Regions from separate parts of the Homo sapiens genome. Here regions 1 and 2 are each linked to region 3. Evidence: promoter capture Hi-C in 16 types of primary human blood cells and fetal thymus (Javierre and others, 2016). All regions are on one chromosome and are shown on one strand. Each heading gives the region's core, a stretch centred on a gene start or on the middle of the fragment in contact. The rest is flanking DNA. Distances are from core to core; before and after follow the strand shown.

What was found. Contacts are between HindIII fragments. The CHiCAGO score rates a contact against its expected background, and 5 or more counts as called.
Region 1: a contact is called between a fragment that was not itself captured here and the fragment with the promoter of MYORG in region 3, in 1 of 17 cell types (endothelial precursors). The highest score is 6.9, in endothelial precursors.
Region 2: a fragment that was not itself captured here is called in contact with the fragment with the promoter of MYORG in region 3 in 1 of 17 cell types (endothelial precursors); the score reaches 5.2 in endothelial precursors.

Annotation. Positions count from the first base shown.
Region 1 is chr9:34,578,188-34,582,699 of GRCh38, reverse strand. CNTFR (ciliary neurotrophic factor receptor) reads left to right here. Exons shown (of 10, transcript NM_147164.3): 2 at 1,495-1,605. CNTFR-AS1 (CNTFR antisense RNA 1) reads right to left here. Exons shown (of 2, transcript NR_024369.1): 2 at 1-365. Among named protein-coding and RNA genes, the nearest start is that of CNTFR, 9.3 kb to the left of the region's middle. RefSeq lists an enhancer at 3,165-4,139. The HindIII fragment of the contact is 1,662 bases long and covers 717-2,378 here.
Region 2 is chr9:34,514,890-34,519,162 of GRCh38, reverse strand. DNAI1 (dynein axonemal intermediate chain 1) reads right to left here. Exons shown (of 20, transcript NM_012144.4): 19 at 1,696-1,878. Among named protein-coding and RNA genes, the nearest start is that of ENHO, 6.0 kb to the left of the region's middle. The HindIII fragment of the contact is 5,796 bases long and covers 1-4,273 here.
Region 3 is chr9:34,375,461-34,379,374 of GRCh38, reverse strand. It overlaps MYORG (myogenesis regulating glycosidase), which reads left to right and starts at 2,477. Exons shown (of 2, transcript NM_020702.5): 1 at 2,477-2,582. SPMIP6 (sperm microtubule inner protein 6) reads left to right here. Exons shown (of 7, transcript NM_032596.4): 7 at 194-356. RefSeq lists a silencer at 2,113-2,502 and enhancers at 2,548-3,128, 3,129-3,710. The HindIII fragment of the contact is 6,785 bases long and covers 1-3,914 here.

The DNA of each region.
Region 1 (4,512 bases), core at 298-2,797, 200 kb before region 3:
TGTCACTATCAACCACCTGTCTCTAACATCTTATTTTAGTTTCTGGCTATCTCTCCCTGGGTGGTGGTGTCTCTGCATCTCTGGGCAGGATTGGAAGACATGGAATCCCTTTCTCATGGTATGTGTTTAGGCACCTAATCATACCTTTGGCAGATATATCTGGGACCTGTTTTCAAGGGAGCAGTTGGACCCTGAGGATCTCCTGGGGTCTTATAGAAGGTGAGGGGTCTTTTGAATGGCTAGAGTCCATAGAAGCAACAGTGGCTTTCAAGATATCCCTGAGTTCAAGGCCAGCTCCTTTACCAACTACCAGTTGTATGACTTTGGCCAAGCTGCTTCTGCTCTCTGAGCCTCAGTTTCAGGATCTGTAAAACAGAAACAGGATTACCTCCAAAGCTTGTGTTTTTTTTTTTTTTTTTTTTTGCCATAGGGTTTCACTTGGTCACCCAGGCTGGAGAGTGCAGTGGCTCAATCTTGGCTCAGTGCAACCTTCGCCTCCCACGCTCAAGTGACCCTCCCACCTCAGCCTCAGGAGTAGCTGGAACCACAGGCACATGCCACCACGCCTGGCTAATTTTTTGTATTTTTGGTAGAGATGGGGTTTCACTATGTTGCCCAGGCTAGTCTGGAACTCCTAAGCTCAGGTGATCCACCTGCTTCAGCCTCCCAAAGTGCTGGGATTACAGGTGTGAGCCACCATGCCTGGCCTTGAAGCTTGTTTTGATGATTCAGTACCAAAATGTAAATTAAGTACTTATCACAGTGTCTGGGTAACCAAGGACCCTGAACAAGTGATACCTGCTGTTATTATTCTTGGGAAAGACATTGTGCAGGTGGGTGAGAGACCTGCACAGGCAAATTGGTATAGCAGCAAGGTTTTGGAACTAGATACGGACTCAAATCTAGACTCTGGAACTGATCAGCTCTGTGGTATTGGGCAAGGCCTCCTTGAAGCTCAATCTCCTTGGTTATCAAATGTGAAGAACAATAAAACCTACCTCATGGAGAAATCATGAAGATTAAGTAAGATAATGCATATAAAGTGCCAAACACAGTTCCTGGCATATAATAGATGCTCAATAAATCATAGTGGTGATAAGGAAGGGGGTGTTACGATGGTGGTTATTTACACCGTGCCTGTGACCCTGTGCCTCTAGGATTGTGCATGTGAGGATGCATGTGATATGGAGGTGCCTGTGTGTCTGCAAACTGATTGTATAAGAATTGTGGATTGTCTGTGGGTGTGTATCTGTGTATTGTATCAGGCCACTGCCTTCTGGCAACCTTTGTCCCTGTGGTTCAGAACCTGAAGTCAGCAAGGGGTGCTGGGAGGGGTCTGTATTACTCTCAACTTTTCTTCTTCCAGACGTTTAGCTGCTGCCTGCCTCAGTCTCCCCTTCTCACAGTGGGGCTGTGAGTATGGAATGGCCTCTGAGTTGGACTAAGGCCTGTGGCTCCTCTGTGACCTCTGATTTGTGCCCTTTGCCCTTCTAGACTCTAGCCTTGTCACCTCATCTTGCCCCCTTGGTTTTGGAAGTCCTGAAGAGTTGGTCTGGAGGAGGAGGAGGACATTGATGTGCTTGGTGTGTGGCCAGTGGTGAAGAGGTAGGTGCTGGGGCCCACGTGGGGCAGATCAATCTCAGGGAATCAGGCAGGTGTAGTGGGGCTGTACGTCTAGGGGACATGAGTGGAGGAGGACCTGAGATTCCTTCCTCTCTTCCCCTGTCCTTTCTTTTTCCAGAGGTTTTGGGCTCAGCCTGGCTGAGGCTTTTCATGCTCTCAAATAGAAAGGGAAGAGACTTACCTGTGGTCACACAGGCAAGGGCAACACCAGGTTAGGAAACTGGGTTCTATACTAAGGGGGTGCTGAGTCCCAGATATGGGAGTATGTTTCTGTTTCAGTATCCTCAGATTTCCTCTCTGCCCCCCAGACATCTCTCTTATTTGATTGGAGGAGCAGCTAGGCTTTAAAAAGATGGGATGGCAGGTCAGAAAGTCCAGAATCTTCTGAGGCCAGCTGTGGGGCCGAGCCTGACTCTCCCTGTCTCTCATTCAGGCCAGGCAAGGCCCCTGGATTGGCAGCTTGGGGGTGGGGGCATCCAAGGCATCGAGGCACTGGAGCGGAACGGAAGGGCCTATTGTCCAAAACCCGCCAGAGGCCCACAAAGGCCGGCCGGGCTTTTCATCTCAGCTCCCAAACAGACTGGCCATTTTCCCGGCTGGGGGCTGAGGGGGGACTAACCCTTCACAACTAGGACCAGGTTGTTGTTGAGGGTGGAGTGGGGTACCCCAGGCTGACACATAAAAGGGGCTTAAGATGGAGCTGGGGCCCAGGAGAGGAGGAAGGGAGGCCTGAGAAGGCTGTAGAGAGTTAAGCTTTTCACCCCACTGTTCCCAGAGGACCCAAGGACATGGGGTGTGTATCTGATAGAAGTTCAGACTAGGATGGGGCTAGGAGATGGATTTACAGAATAAAAGATAATATTTATGGGGGGTACCTTGGGAGGAGTCTGATGGCTTATTTGGAAAGTGTGCTACTGGGCTGAGAGGGCACGTAATCCTCCGCAAACTGGGAACACCTTAGGGAGCCGGGACAGGAGCTGGAGAAGAGAAGGATAGTGGTCGGGGAAAGAATGGGCTCCCTGCAGCAAGAAGAACTGAGGCCAGACAGCAGGAAGGACTTCCTGCCAGTGAACAGTAGCTCAGATGCCCTGACCCTCTTCCTGGGGATCTCAGAGGATTGCCTCAGCGAGCAGGGGAGCTGGAGAACACCCCAGGGGCTCAGGCTGAGGCAGCTTCTGTGGGGGCCAAGGAGGAGGAGGCCAGAGAGGGAGGACTTGGCAGTTCTGTTCACCCTCCCCCAGCAGCACCTCCAGCACCACTTTAAAAACAGCTTTTTAATTTAACAAAGTGGATGAAAAACGGTTTTTGGAAATAAAGAATATCTGCTGTCTCCCAGGCTAGCACTCAGCCCTTGCAGAGAGCCTCTCTCTGGGCTTCTCCCTGCTGCCCATGGTTCCTTTCCTCCCTGTCTCTTTTTGTTTGTTTGTTTCTGCTCCTCAGCCCCCCAGCTTCCTTTGGCCTCCCATCACCCTCTCTCTCTCCATCACCCTCTCTCTGTCCATCTCAGCCTCCGTGGGAGCCTCGCCCTCAGTGTCTTATCTCAATGGTATCTCTGCATTTCCTTCTGTCTCTCCTCTCCCAGTCTCTCTCTTCTAGGGCCCATCTCTCTTTCCTGATTTGTCTCTGTCTCCCAGCCTGTCTCAATCTCTGTCTCTCCACCCCCCTCCTTCTCCCCCAACCCCAGCTCTAAATGGGTCTATTTAAAACGCCCAACGCTGCCAAGTCAGAAAAGCGTCTCCTGATAAAGCGCATTAGGCGGAGGGAGGGAGGAGGGGGAGGAGGGAGCGGCGGGCGGACGGATTGATCCAAGCCCGTAACCCCATTAATCAGGCAGCGTGGATCCCCCTCCCTCCCCCGTTCCAGCCCCTTTTGAGCTAAAAGCCCCTTAAATATTTATCACCCCTCCCCCACAGGGGCGAAGGGAGGAGGGTATGGCCCTTGGTGTGAGTATCCCCAGCTGTCTGGTGCCCCCGACCCCATGCGGATGTGCATTTGCACGTGTGCGTGTGCGTGTGCTCATGTATATGTGTACGGGTGTGCACACCTGACAAGCCCAGGGTCCAGTGACCAACCTGTCCGTCACCCTCTGGGCAGCCTGGTCCCTCCCTGGAGACCCTAGGAGTCTGGCCCTGCTCCTGTCCCTCCTAAAGGCGGATCTGGGGTCCTCATCCCAAATGCAGAAAGTAACTGGAGGACGGGTGGCATTGCACTGTCATTCCCAGAGGGCAGGATGGTGAGCCTGGGGTTCAGTTTCCAGATTCCCCCAAATTCCCAGCACTGGAAGTAACTTGGGGAATAGAGTTGGGGCCCCGTGCTCCTAAAGTAAGGCAACTTGGAAGGCTGGCTGAAGTTCCTGCTTTATCCTCACAGGGCAGAATAGGACCTGGAATAGGACCTGGGGGTAGGCTGGGAGCCTCCCGTGCCCTAAAAAATGTGGGAAAGTGAGCTGGGCCTTGAGGTGTGGCGGTCACCCCGGGAGGAGGAAGGTAGCCGGGAGCTGGGGCCGGGTCCCACATCTCTCACCACTTGCTGATAGCCCCAGGCAGCAGAGGTCAGCCCTGAGACCAGCAGTGGTCTGCCCGAGTTGGCCTGCGGCAACTTCTCCTTGGGAGGGGAAAGGAGGCCCCGGCCACCCCTGGGTGTGGAGAGGGGCCGGGACCGGAGCGGGGAGGGTCCCTTCTGCCTCCCCTCCCCCAGCATCAAGTGCCACATCTCCTCCTGACTCAGACAATTAGATTCAAAGGATGACCTCACTGCATGCCGTCCCTCACTCTCCCTCCGCTAGCTCGCTTGCTCGCTTGCTCGTTCGCTTGCAGCGCGCTCCTTCCTCCCCTCCTCCCGGCCCGCTTGCCCGGTCGCTCACTCGGGGCTCGGCCCTCGTCGCTCACC
Region 2 (4,273 bases), core at 1,340-3,839, 140 kb before region 3:
ATGAATCACTTGGCTGATAGGGTCAGATGGCAATTTCACGGGAACCTCTAATCCACTCAAGTACCCACCAGCCCCCACCTGTCCCTTCTCAGGTCCTCAGAGACGTAGGTCCCCAGATACACACAGCCCAGCTCTCCCAGCCATGACTGACCCTTCTCTGAGGGGAACTGAAACTATGGGAGATGCTTACCTCCCTGGATCAGAGTGGGCAGGGCAGGCTCCCACCCATGTCTGACCCTTCTCTGAGGGGAACTGAAACTATGGGAGATGCTTACCTCCCTGGATCAGAGTGGGCAGGGCAGGCTCCCACCCATGTCTGACCCTTCTCTGAGGGGAACTGAAACTATGGGAGATGCTTACCTCCCTGGATCAGAGTGGGCAGGGCAGGCTCCCACCCATGTCTACCACCCTCATGGTGTCATGGCTGTACTCCTCCCCCAAAGAATGACCATCATCCCTCCTGGAGGGTTGTCCAACTCTGCCAGCTTCAACCTGGGTCTCTCTCCTCAGAAAATTAAGAACACATTTTATCTATTCCACAAATTATGCTTCCTCCTTCCTCCTCCTTGAGGCCAACTAGCTGGGCTCAGCAAAGAGATTCAGACCACGCCCGACTCCCTCCCTCCCCTCAAGCCCACCACAGCCTCTGGGCCACAGCTGCAGGCGCTTAGCAGCCTTTTGAGTATTTATAGCCAAGTCCACCCTCTCCCCCAGCTGGCTACAATTACAGGGCCAGCCACACTCCCAGCCCTTGCCTCCCTGGCCATGGTGGGGAACAGGCCAAGCCAGCACCAGAGGGATGGTGCCGCAGTCCCTTCCTTGGTAGGAGCACAGTGCAGGGAAGACAGTAGTCGAAAGACACAGGCCCCTGCCACTGCCTCAAACTGCAGTAAATGCCTCAAATTGCCAGGAGGGATGGTCATTAGGGCAAGCTGGCCCAGTCCTGATCCTGGCCCAGAACCTGGCAGAAAGCAAAGAGCCATCTCTACTCTTAGCACACAAATGGGCAGGACTGGGCTCTGGGTTCTTGGGCTCAGGATTCCAAGGCCCGGGCTGCAAAGCCTGGGTTCATAAGTCTGGATCTGGACTCAGATCTAGACTTTAAGGTCATCGCTCTGGGCTCCAGACCTGTATTTGGGGCCCTTGGCCTCTGGGCAGGGTCTCCTGATCATTGGAGACCCTAGAAACAGGAACCAGAGCTCAGAAGGAGGGCTGCATAGCTGCTGACCTAGTTACTCTCCTTGCGGCTCATTTCCTTCCTCTCTGTGTAGACCCACAGCTCCCAGCTCAGGGACCACTGGGGCTGAAGCCCTGTGAAAGCCCAGTCAATGAGGCAGTGGCTCAGCCCCAGGCCCCCTGCCTGGGTGACCTGTCCTACCCACAGCATTTCCACTGGGAAGAAATCAATGATACCTCCACATTTGCCTCTGCAGGCTTCAGATCCACCTGCTCATTGGATGTCTCCACCTGGGAAAGTCACCTGGGGCCCCACAGGTAACTCAAATGCAGCATGTCAAACTGCTGTTTTCTCACAAACCTGCTTCTACTGTGAGCCTCATTCAGGCAATGACACCATCCTTACCCTGGGTCTCCCACATCAGAAACTGGGTGGTCACCCTGGCTTCTCCCTTCTGTCATCCCCACCCTCCTGGAGACTTTACGTCTTGCAGCAGCTCAAAGTCCCAGAGCCTGTACCTTTGGCATCTTGCGCAAATTGGGTGAGAGCTTGAGGCTGATGATGTGCCCACGGTCATCGCCCACAATGATGATGGGGTGGATGAGATTGAACTGCACGTGGGTGAGCCTGTTCTTTTTGGCCGCCACAGGCTGGTTGCAGATGGCCTCATACTTGTTGATGGCTAAGTCAAATATGTGGGCCTGTGGAGAGGTCGGTGTCAGCACACTCAGGGGTAATGAGGCCTGTCTTCCACCTCAGAGGAATGAGTCCCTGGACTTCCTGGGGAAAGACTGTAGAAGGCTAATGGCTAGCACACTGGAGCTGGAGGTGGAGGGAGGGGGAATTTTGTGTCTCTGTGTTTTTCCTATGGTTGAAAGAGTGAGAATTAAAAAGTTTAGGAGAAATTTTAAATCTATGGAGAATTAATAATAGCAGCTATAGGCTGGGCGTGGTGGCTCACTGACGCCTGTAATCCCAGCACTTTGGGAGGCCAAGGTGGGTGAATCACTTGAGGTCAGGAGTTTGAGACCAGGCTGGCCAACATGGTGAAACCCTGTCTCTACCAAAAATACAAAAAATTAGATGGGCGTGGTGGTGCATGCCTGTAGTCCCAGCTACTAGGGAGGCTGAGATGGGAGAATCACTTGAACCTGGGAGGCGGAGGTTACAGTGAGCCAAGATGGAGCCACTGTACTCCAGCCTGGGCAAGAGTGAGATCTTGTCTCAAAAAAAAAAAAAAAGAAAAGAAAAGAAAATAGCAGCTACCATTTGTTGAGCACTCACTATGTACTAGACTCTGGGCAAGCACATCATACGGTTGCATCACCTCATTATGCTCTTCACAACCACTCTGTAAGGTGGTTCTGTCATTATCTTTATTTTATAACGGAGGAGTTAGAGGCTCTTAGAGGCTAACCTGCTAGTAAGTGGCAGAGCCAGGGCTTACACCAGTTAATATATGTAAAGTGCAAGGACAGTGCTTGACATACCAGTGCTCATTCCATGTTGGATGCTACCTTCACCACACCCTCAGACCAAACCACTACCAACTCTCACCTGGACAACTGTGGCAGCCTCTTAACTGGTCTCCCCGCTTCCACTCTTGCCTTGTTACAATCCATCCTCCATATGGCAGTAGGCTTACCTTTAAAGCACTTAAAATCCTCCCACAGTCTCCCTTGGCACTATAAATAAAATCCAGATCCCACACTCTAGCCCACCTCCCCACTCTCACCTCATGTTCTCGCCCCTTGCTTACTCTACCCCAACCACACTTGCCTTCCTGTTCCTTAAACCCCAAGCTGGTTCCCACCTCAGGGCATCTGCCCCAGCTGCTCCCTCACCATGGGCTGCTCCCCTGCCCTATCTCCACATGGCTGCCTCCTTCTTGCCAGTCAACTCTCAGCGTGCGTGTCACCTCTTCAAAGAAGCCTTTCCTGACCACTGTATCCAACAGACCACCCAGTCCTTTTATTTTTTCTTTTTCTTTTTTTCTTTTTCATTGCCTGGCCTTTGTGAACCTATCTTTCTTCTTTTAATGTAACAACTTTATTGAGATATAATTCATATACTATAAAATTCACTCATTTAAAGCATCAAATTCTTGGTGTTAGTATATTCACAGTTATGCAACCTTCTCTACAACCGATTTTAGAACATTTTCACCACCCTAGGCCACACAAATTGACTTTCCATCTCTACAAATTTGCCTGTTTTGGATGTATTATAGAAGTGGAATTATACAGTATGTGGTCTTTTGTGACTGGCTTTTTACGCTAAGCATGTTGTCAAGGTTCCTCCATGTTGTAGCATGTATCAGCACATCATTCCTTGTCCTTGCTGACATAATCCCCAAGGAGAGACTATATTTTGTTTATCTATTCAGCAGTTGATGGACACTGGGTTGTTGCCACTCTGACTGTTATGAGTAATGCTGCCATGAACATTTATGTTTACATATCACAGTCTTTTATTAATAATTCTCTGCCTAGAACACTGGGAATTTTGTTGTTGCTTTTTGTATCTTTCCCTTCACTAGAACATAAGCTCCACAAGAGCAGGTATCTAAGCCACCAGGGTCCAGCCTAGAGCTGGGCACCATCGTTGGCCCTTAGTAGTTATCTGTTCCAGGAAGAGATGACTGACGGACTTTAGAATGGTGCCTTCATCGCTGCATTCTTTCCTTGGGGCAGCCAGTGCTTCTCAGTTTATATCAAAGTCCATAGGGAAAATGGGTTTGCATTCAAGAATATGCTCACAAGATGTTTGTTTCTGAGCTCTCACCAATTCTCAGTGTTGAATAGCCCCCTCCCATTCCACCCCACTGAAGTTCCCTCAGAATCAGCTTGCACACTCCCGGGGATGGAGACTTCACTACATTATAGACACTATTCAGTCACTGATCAACTCTGGCTCATACATTTTTCCTTAGATGGAGCCGGGCCCTGCCACCCTCTAGCTCTCCACCATACAGCAGAGGAAATAACTGCTCCATGGCATCTCATCCCCCAGAGTGCTTTCTCCTCCAAGGTGAACAGCTCTGTTTCCTCCCTGAAGCCTCATGGGATGAATGATTCCTCTTTTGGCTGGACCCTG
Region 3 (3,914 bases), core at 1,228-3,727:
GAAGTCGATGTTAAGGAGGAAATATTGGGTATCAGCAACTTAACAGTAGAACCTAAGGTCAGGAGGTCAGTATTGGAACCCAAGGTCAGTGCTATAGACAAAGTGTAGGGATAAGGTTAGCATTGCAAACTGGAGTCAGATATTCACTTTGACATATGAGGATCCAAAACGGCTGACCCATCTCTTCCTGTAGATGGGACACAAGTCACTTCAAGAAGTCTGGTGGTCCCCAGAGAAACAACTATGTTATCCATCCTGAGTTTGTGTCTGAGACCTATCCCGACTATCGTTGCTGGTAGAGCCTGGGCTTGCTGTGCCAAGGGGGCAGAGCAATAAATAAACTCTTCAACCCCAAAGCCTGCCTCCTGTGTCCTTACCCAGCAGGATCTGGAAGTGAAGGGCCAGTCACTCAGGCCTCTATCAAACCCCTTCAACTGAGATGCAATTTTTCTCAAAGTCACCCTTCCCTGGGCCCTTCCAACCCCATCATCTCAGTACATCCCTGAGTGCCCTCCTGACACAGAACAGTAGCCTTATATCCAGCTGCTATCCTCCTCCCCTGAATCCCAGAGCCCAAACGGATGGGTCCACCCTGCAATGCAGGCAGGAGCCATCTACTTTCCACCCCACGAAGACCCTCCAGCTAACATTTCTTCAGTATGCTCCCAAACTTAGATGCCCTCCCACTCATCAGAGGACCCAGAATCCTTCCTTCCACAGTCAAAGACCTATCCCTACACCCAAAGCTCTTGATCTCTGCTTCCAGGAGTCCCCATCACAGCCTCCCAAAAGCCTCTCTGTGCTCAGACACCCTTGCTGCACAAGGTGTGTCCCCCATTCCAAGTCCAACTGGTCAAAACATAATTTTGGAGGGTCTCATGACAAAGAAATTTCAAGTTGCAAAACAAAGCCCTGTTTCTCTGCCCCTCAGGGAGCGAGAAGGGGCCATTCTAAAATCTCTGTGATCTTCAGTATTTTTATTTCTGCATCAAATAGATATGAAACCAGCTGGGTGCAGAGGCTCACACCTGTAATCTCACCACTTTGGGAGGCAGAGGCAGGAGGATCACTTGAGCCCAGGAATTCGATACCAGCTGGGGCAACATAAAGAGACCCCTTCTCTACAAAAAAATTTAAAAATTAGCAGGGTATGGTGGCACACACATGTGGTCCAAGTTACTCAGGAGCCTGAGGCGGGAGGGGATAGCTTGAACCAAGGACATTGAGGCTGCAGTGAGCTATGTTAACGCCACTGCACTCCAGCCTGGGCGACAGAGCGAGACCCTCTCTCAAAAAAATAAAGACCGGACGCGGTGGCCCACACTTGTAATCCCAGCACTTTGGGAGGCCGAGGCAGGTAGATCACCTGAGGTCAGGAGTTTGAGACCAGCCTGACCAACATGGTGAAACTCTGTCTCTACTAAAAATACAAAATTAGCCAGGCGCGGTGGTGCGTGCCTGTAATCCCAGCTACTTGGGAGGCTGAGGCAGGAGAATTGCTTGAACCCGGGAGGCGGAGTTTGCAGTGAGCTGAGATCGTGCCATTGTACTCCAGCCTGGGCAACAAGAACGAAACTCAAAAATAAATAAATATAAAAATAAAATAAAATAAAAAAGAAATGAAACCTCAGAGTCTTGCCCAGCCCCCGGGGAGAGGGGCATGGCGGGGCACACCCACTTTCCCGCAGCTTGGGCATTTCTAACTAAAGGCTGTAACTTAGGAGGAGGGGCTGGACCCTATAAATAACTAGTCTGGGGGTAGCGGTCTGGGAGGCGGGTGACGTTGCAAAACACCGAGCAGAAACCGGTCTTCTCAGTCCCTGACCTCGGACACCGCTGGTTTGGTCCGGTGGGAACCGACAGCTTGGACTCGCGGCGGGTTGGAACTACAGCTCCCTCCGTGGGGCCCTCGATTGGAAGCACCTGCATTGGGAGCTGAGATACTCGCGGAATTCCGCCACCACTTTTCCGTATGGAAAGCTGAGGGCTTGTGAGAGCGTTATACCGATATGGCCTCCACCTGTCCAAACCGGGAAGGAAGGAATTCCAATGGCCAGCTCTGCTCCTTTACCCTGCAGCTCTCTCCCTCTCATCCTCATTCCAAACCTAGCCTAGAGGTGCAAGAACCCCAACCTTCCGCAGCTGCTCCTTTCTGCAGAACTACATGTCCCAGCAGGCCTGGGGCCGAGCCCCGCCCGCTTGCGGGTTAGCAGTGGCCCAGGAGGGGCGGGCCCGCCGGCGGGAGTCGGAGCCGCGGGGCGCAGGACTGAGCAAGCCTGAAATGCCAGGGGCAGAGCACAGAGCGGTGGGAGGAAGGTGGGGCTGAGGGGCGGGGCCACAGATCCGCCTGATAACCTGGGAGGAGGGGTCGAACGTCAAGGGCAGGGCTGGACTCTGAGGCCCGAGACGAGACTGGATGACTGGGGCGTGGCCGAGGAACCCCAGGGCGGGACCCGAGGAGGGGCTGTGCCCTGCCAGACAGAGCCCCGCGCGGCGCGGCGGCAGCTTCACTCTGGTTCAAGCGCAGGGGATCGGCGGGAAGCTCTTTCACCCCCGCTTCTGCCGGGCTGTAACTGCAATGGGTGAGCCCAGCGGGAGGGCTGTGGGGGGCGGGGGGCTGCTGAAGGAGCACGATTCCTGAACTTTCGCTCCCACCGATGAATGGGTGGAGCGAGCCTGAACACCTGGGCCCATCCCACGGCCGCGATTCCCGCGGGGCGACAGGTCCCTTGACCTCGGTCGGCCCCTTCGGACAGTATAGCCTTCAGGGCGGGGTAGGGAGGGCGGCTGTGGAGTATTCCAGGCTATGTAGGCAGTCACTCGATCCCCGCGGATACCGTCGCCTGGCAGGAGAGGGAGATGGGCCGGATCGAGTTGCCTTTGACATTTCCATCCCCCCGGGAACTGTGTCCAACTAACGATTCTACTTGGAATGGCCTCCCCTCAGTTGAGTCGGGCGGGGCCCTCCCCCTCAGACCAGACTAGCTGTGGCAGCCAAGGCTGAGGTTGAGTGTCCGGTGGGGAGAGGCTCAGCAGGGGCAGAGCCCAGACTCCACCTGGCGGAGGCGGCAGATTACAGAGGTCTCTGGCACCACTGTTAACACCGGAACCACAGACTTCCTCCCCCAAAGCCCCGGTACCAGATGCCATTAAAATTGCCCTCTTTGCTGCCCTCGTGGTCTTCGTGGTCCGCGTGGAGCAAGCAGCAGCACCAGCCCTTGGAAAGACAGGCCTCACCATGCCATGTCCATCTGATGGAAGCTGGTCCCACCAGCTCAGCCCCAGGGCTCCTTTCTGCTACTGCATTCAGGCAGCCAGGTCAGATCATTATCTCCCATCTCCTAAAACTTACACTGTGGAGAGCTGGGCTGGGATTTTAGATCCAGGCAGCCTTGATACCTGGCTAACTTCAGACAAGTTCCTTTTTCTGTTTGGGCCACGTTTCCTCACCTGTAAAATGGACACTGCAGCTATGTCTGCTGTTCCACATTGTTGATAGAACTGGATGCTGTGGTGACATTTGGGACACTATCATGGTGCCTGGGGTGGGTGGGTGCCCAGGCCTGTGGGCTTCTGTCTTTCATCAAAGAACTTCAGATCCCAGAAAATTAAGATTCTCAAAACATAACTGTCGGAAAGGGCTTTTGAATCCACCTTGGTGGCCTCTTCCTGCCTCCAGGGCTCATGAGATAGGCTGACTTCATATGAAAGTTTTGAGGATGAGGAAGTCTCTCTCCTCTTCAGATACTGACCCTCTCTCTCCTTATTTCCTTGGTGCCCAGAATAGGGCTTTGGTTATCTTGAATGAATGAATATAAACTCACAGGTGTGATCTGAGCCACCTAAAGCCTTCTTTGGGTTCTGCTCAGCTTGAGGGCATCACCTAAAGGCCACTGGCTGCATTTTCCAGGAGG